Regions from separate parts of the Homo sapiens genome. Here region 1 is linked to region 2. The links are contacts of gene promoters, found by promoter capture Hi-C in blood cells and fetal thymus (Javierre and others, 2016). All regions are on one chromosome and are shown on one strand. Each heading gives the region's core, a stretch centred on a gene start or on the middle of the fragment in contact. The rest is flanking DNA. Distances are from core to core; before and after follow the strand shown. Region 1 has its middle 160 kb from the start of NUP210. Region 2 holds the start of IQSEC1 (IQ motif and Sec7 domain ArfGEF 1).

Evidence for each region. The method cuts DNA at HindIII sites, captures the fragments that hold promoters and counts their contacts. A CHiCAGO score of 5 or more calls a contact.
Region 1: a fragment that was not itself captured here is called in contact with the fragment with the promoter of IQSEC1 in region 2 in 2 of 17 cell types (naive B cells and total B cells); the score reaches 5.7 in naive B cells.

Annotation. Positions count from the first base shown.
Region 1 is chr3:13,256,329-13,259,032 of GRCh38, reverse strand. It overlaps a transcript of IQSEC1 not described here. Among named protein-coding and RNA genes, the nearest start is that of NUP210, 160 kb to the left of the region's middle. RefSeq lists enhancers at 1,314-1,814, 1,815-2,315. The HindIII fragment of the contact is 751 bases long and covers 1,006-1,756 here.
Region 2 is chr3:13,071,885-13,074,924 of GRCh38, reverse strand. It overlaps IQSEC1 (IQ motif and Sec7 domain ArfGEF 1), which reads left to right and starts at 1,496. Exons shown (of 14, transcript NM_001134382.3): 1 at 1,496-1,933. The coding sequence starts at 1,911. RefSeq lists silencers at 1,121-1,300, 1,421-1,580. The HindIII fragment of the contact is 20,266 bases long and covers 1-3,040 here.

The DNA.
Region 1 (2,704 bases), core at 132-2,631, 180 kb before region 2:
TAGGGAAAGAGGGTAGGGGCTGTGCTGAGGCCCAGGGGAAAGATGATAGGTCTTGGGCCAGGGAAGGGGATGGAGGTGGCAGAGCCCAGACTTGGGGGCCGTTGTGAGGCAACACCTGCCAGAATCCCAGATGGAGTGGGTGATGCTGTGGAATCCTGGGGTTCCCTAGGTTCCTGGAGGTTACTGGTGCCAGCCCCTGTGGGGTGGGGAGGGGGGCGAGGGTGCGATTCGCAGCGTGAGAGGCTGCTTTTTCCCAGCTGGTTGTGCTCCTCACTGGCTGCATTCCATTATCTTCTCTGGGTTCTAGATTTATTTTTATTTTTACTTATTTATTTATTTAATCTTTATTTTCAGGATCTCATGCTGTTGCCCAGGCTGGATTGCAGTGGCACAATCATAGCTCACTGCAGCCTCGATTTCCTGCGCTCAAGTGATCCTCCCACCTCAGCCTCCTGAGTGGCTGGGACTACAGGCACATACCACCATGTCCGGCTAATTTTTTTAAAATAATTTTCTAGAGATGGGATCTCACTATGTTGCCCAGGCTGGTCTGGAACTCCTAGGCTCCAGTGATCCTCCCATCTCGGCCTTCCAAAGTGGGAGGATTACAAGTGTGAGCCATCACACCTGGCCCTGAGTTCTAGATTTTTTAAAAGGTTTTTTGTTGTTGTTGTTGCTGTTTGTTAATAGTCTTTACTTTTAGAGCACTTTAGGTTTACAGAAAAATTGAGCAGTAAGTACAGTGAGTTCCCATGCTCCTGCCGTCCCTGTTCCCTCCATTATTATCTTGCATTAGTGTGGCACATCTGCCGCAATGGATGAACCCACTTTGACACATCATTATTACCCATAGTTCATGGTTCACCACGGGCTTGTTCTGCCATTGTGGCATCACACAGAGCAGTGTTTCTGCCCCCGCCCCCCGCAAAATCCTCTGTGCTCTGCCTGTTCATCCCTCTCTCCCTCCAGGTCACCTTCTTTCACTTAGTCATATGCATTGAAGCTTCCTCCATGGCTTTTTATGGTTGATAGCACATTTCTTTTTAGCACTGAATAATATTCCATTGTCTGGATGTAGCACAGTTTATCCATTCACCTGCTGAGGGACATCTTGGTTGTGTCTAAGTTTTGACAGTCATGAATGAAGCTGCTATAAACACCCATGTGTAGGTTTTTGTGTGGACATACATTTTCAGCTCCCTTAAGTAAACAGCAAGGAGTGTGATTGCTGGGCCGTGTGGCAGGGGCGTATGTAGTTTTGTAAGAAGCTGCCAAACTGTCTTCCAAAGTGGCTGTGCCGTTTTTAATTCCTGGGCTTCTAGATTTTGGACCCCTTTAAGGGGCTCCGGGTTCAGAGGATTTCACAGGCTGTAGTGCCCCACCCCATTTCTCAGACCAGCTGCAGGGTGCGGAGCCCTACCCAAACTGAGTGGTCTCAAGTGAGCTCAAACGAGGAAGATGTCCCGAGTCTCCCTGAGGCTTCGTGGACTGCACCAGGCGGGGGCGGGAAGGGCTGGGGCAGTGCAATGAGCACCAGCCAGGGTTAGTCTGGTTGGGGGTGATGCTGATGTGTTCAACTCAGCTAGGAGGGCCATGTGAGGGAGCCTAGCGAGGTCACCAAATGTGGGACCCACAGCGTGGGGTTCAGTGTGGGCTGAGAAACTGGGTGTCCTTGGGAACGTCCTGCCTAGCCGGAATGTTATGTCTTCTGGAGAATGTCTGTCTGTCTGTCTCATATGCATGCACTGGGGAAGCTTCTCAGGGGCAGCTTACATGTGAAATCATGCCCGTGAGAATGACCACTTGGAAACGTTCGTCCTGAGGCCCCTGAGCTGTGAGGTGTGTCTCTGTGCCATCCTGACTCCCTTGTAGTCTTGATTGGACTGAAGTGCTGCCCTCCCTGACCCTCACTGCGTGCCTGGCAGGGTGGTGAGCAGTTTATACTCGCTGCCTCCCTTAATCCTCATGGCAGCACCAGAGGTAGGTTTTATTTTTTCTTTTTTACAAAAGGGAAAACTGGGCACAGAGAGGTTAAGGAGCTTGTCTGTGAACACACAGCGGGTTGGCTGGGATATGGGGCAGAGCTCCAGGCCTGTTTTTGGGTTGGGGAGCAGGGGAAGATAGGGGCCGCTGGCTGCTGGTGCTGCACCCGCTGCTGGTGCTGCACCCTCTCCCCAGGGTAGGTGAGGCTCTCCCTCTGCTCTCCTCCAGGGTCCCTCTCCCCTTCTCGTGCTTTGCGTCTCTCCATGGTGTTTGCCACCTGACGGGTCCTCCAGTTTGTCCTTTTGGTTTCTGTCTGTGGTCCACTTTCTATCTTCCCACCATGGCCTGGGGTCCCGGAGGGAAGGGTTTCTGTCTGCCTGGTCCCTTCTGCATCCCCAGCGCTTGCTCAGTGACTTTGGTTGAGTGAGATATCCCGAAGGCTGCTTTGGGGTTGGTGAGGTCAGCTCAGGAGGGTGTGGCTCTTAGGAACCCCAGTTCCCCTGGGCAAATCACTGGGCTGCCCTCCAATCAGTTTGCTTATCTGTCAGGTGGGGGATAAGGATGGGGCTGATGCCGTGGGTTATAACCACAGTTGGTACTTGCTGAACAGGCAACTTTGTGAAATAATTAAAATTATGTAGTTACATATAATTATATATGATATCATTATATCTGATGTGTCATAGATTTTTTTATGGTTAAAAGATAAATAACACAAAGT
Region 2 (3,040 bases), core at 247-2,746:
ACCTCTGCCACTCTTTGCTGTGCAACTTTAGGCAAATCGCTCACCCCCTGAGGTTCATTTCCTCCCCTGTAAAGGATGGAATGGAACTCAAGGATGCAGCATCACTCCTTCTAAATTCGGTGAGTGTGAATCTGGAGAGAATGGAAAGAGGAAGGGAAATGGCCCTGTGGGCTGCCATCCACATCCAGCCGATTCCCAGTCTCAACTACTCCCTCTCTCATTTATTCCTCCCAGTGAGGCAGCTTTCAAGCAGTCAAGAACCAAGACTCTGGAGCCAGACTGCCCGCCAGCTATGTGGCTTGGGCCAGTTGCTGAACCTCTGGCTTTAATGCGCTCCCCCGTGAAGTAGGATGATAGTATTAGGCCTCATTGGGGTTGTCTTGAGGATTACCGTGCACGGAAGAATATTATCTACATGCCTCTGAGATAGGTCTGGGATTCCTGGTTTACAGATGAGGAAGCAGAGAGGATCAGATGAACATCAGACAGGAAGAGAGAAATCTGTGTGGGAAAGGCGGGTGTGGGAGCCGAGGATGGATGTGCGCTTCTCCCCTCCACCTCCCTGTCGCACACTGCACCACGCTGGCCTCCTCTGGGCCAGTCAAATACACCAGGCTGCCTTCCGCCTCAGAGCCTTGACGCCAGCTCCTCCCCTGCTTCTTGCGTCATCCGAGTCTCAGCCACACGTGCCTCACAGAGGGCCTTCCCGACCACCCCGTCTGATGGCAGAAGCCTCCTTCCCGCCTCTCTTGGGGTCCCTGCCTCCCCTCTTCCTGCTCTCTTTTCATCCTGATCCTTATCACCACGTGCAATCCTATATCTGCACACTTACTTCCTGGCTTCCCCTTAGACTGTAAACATCATGAGGGCAGATACTTGCCCGGCACATGGAAGGTCCTCGGGAGAGGAAGAGGCACCATAGCTAGACCAGAAATTCTCCCTAGCCACGTGCAGCCCCCTTTGGGACAGGACTGGCACAAACGAGGACTGCTCTGCCATCCACCGTGCAGCTACTGGCGTGGTGCGCCCTCCTGGAACCCCGTGGTATAGCTGTTATGATCCCTTTCACAGTAGCATAATCAAGACTCCCAGGAGAGACGCGGCTTGCCAAGGTCTCATCGCCCTTCAGTGGCAGAGACAGCCTTGGAGTCGGCCGGCCTCACTCCAGGGCCAGAGCCCCGAGAGCTCCGCGGCTCGCGTGTCTCAGTGCCGAAGGCAGAAAAGCCGCCTTGGAAAGTAGTGTCATCGTAGGCTCCGCGCGGCGCGTGCATTTTAGCAACAGACTTCCAGGTTTCCAGCGCGGGCCAGGAAGGGGCCGGCGCCCCGCGCCCCGCCGGGTGTGTGACTTTGCCGCGAGGGCGCAGCCGAGCGGCCGCGCCTGATGCTGCTGTTGCCATGGCGACCAGCGCCTCGGCGATTGGTCCGGCGCGGCCGCACTACGTTGCTCCTTGGGCGCGGGGGGTGGGGGAGGCTCCGGCGCGCCCGCCCCTTCTCCGGATGCTGCGAGAGCAAACCCGGGGCAGCCTTCTCTCGACCCTCCCCTCCTCATCCCCGCGCCCCGCACCCCGGATGGACGGGAGGGAAAAACCCCAAGGTGGGCCCAGGTAGCAGCGAGGTGGACGCCCCCGCCCAGCCTGGCGACCACGGTTACTCGACGTCCTCGCTCGCTCCTGGGCACGGTGTGAGCGCGCGCTACGTGCCAGGGCCCTCCACAGCCCGCTGCTGGCGCCGCCCCCCGCTCCCGCCCCAGCCTCCCTGGAGGAGCCCGCCACCCCCGGGAATGTGACTCGCCCCGCGATTTAATTTTATTCCCCTCCACTTCTTGCCTGAGCCGCCTGCTCCTCTTGGAAACACGTTGAGCCTCCCCGCTGGAGAGGGAGCCAGAACAGGGAAGAACGGATTCACACAGGATGGCTTGCAGAAGACGCTATTTGTGAGTATATGTGGCAGGTTTCTGCCTGAAGCCAGAGGCCAGAGGGGCCCGGCTGAGCTGGGAGCTGGAGTGAGGGGCATCGTTGGGGGAGGGGCAGGTGGATGTGCAGGTGACTTGCAGAGGGAGCTGGCCACCCAGCAGGGATGCCGGCGCTCGGCCCCTGCAGCGGAGGTGTTTGTTGGTGATGACGATGAGAAAAAGGCTATTAGTCAGCAGGTCTTCAGCAGGCTGTGAAATTCCCAACTGTGAGAGCAGGTATCCCCCCTCCCAGATCCACATTCAGGGTGCCCAGACCGGCTCCTACTGTTTTGGCTTTGGTTTAGCCCATAGCCTGTTTAGGAAGAGAATCTCTGCCCAGCACGCCCATGGCCAGCCCTTCAGCCATGCCTGATAGAAGGTCGCAGGCAGGCTGAGGCAGTGGCCAGGATGCTGCGTCCTCCAAGGGCAGGTGAAGGTCCAGCCCACCGTCCCTAGCACGGAGGCATCAGTGTCCAGCTGTGTGCCCAGGTGTTCTGTGGGCTGGCAGCAGAGCGGCTGTGTGCTGGGCCTCACGCCAGCAGCAGAGGCTGTGAAAGTCTGCACGGGGCGGTGACATCACGGGCCCGGGTATTTATGGAAACCAAAGCCTGCGCTTCGGTTAGCCAGGCTTCCCAGGGGGCAGTGGGGTTCGAATGCCAGCTTCCCTCACAGCTCTCTGGGCGCTGCACTGTGCTGTTCTAGGAGGAGCAACCTTTGCCCTCCTCTGGGACCCTCGGCTGCGGGGGTTGAGGCCCAGCGTCAGGTCTCCACCTGCCTAAACTATTTGCCCAGGACCCACTCATTTGGGGCTGTGCAGTGACCTCAGACCTTAGGAGGTTAGAGAGCATGGCTGAGTCCTCTTGAGCTGGGCTCAGTCGCAAGGCTAGGAAAAGGAGGCCTGGAGCAGTATGTGGGGAGCCTTCTGGGGGCTACCCCAAGGCCTCCCTAATCGATGGAGGCCCCTTACCATGGCAGGGGCCTGTGGAACCCCTGATAGAGTGGCAGCTCCCCGTCACCTCCACTGAGGGAAAGTAAACACACCTCTGCCTCTGCTGCGTCAGCAGTGCCAGGCGGCAACCCACGGGGGAT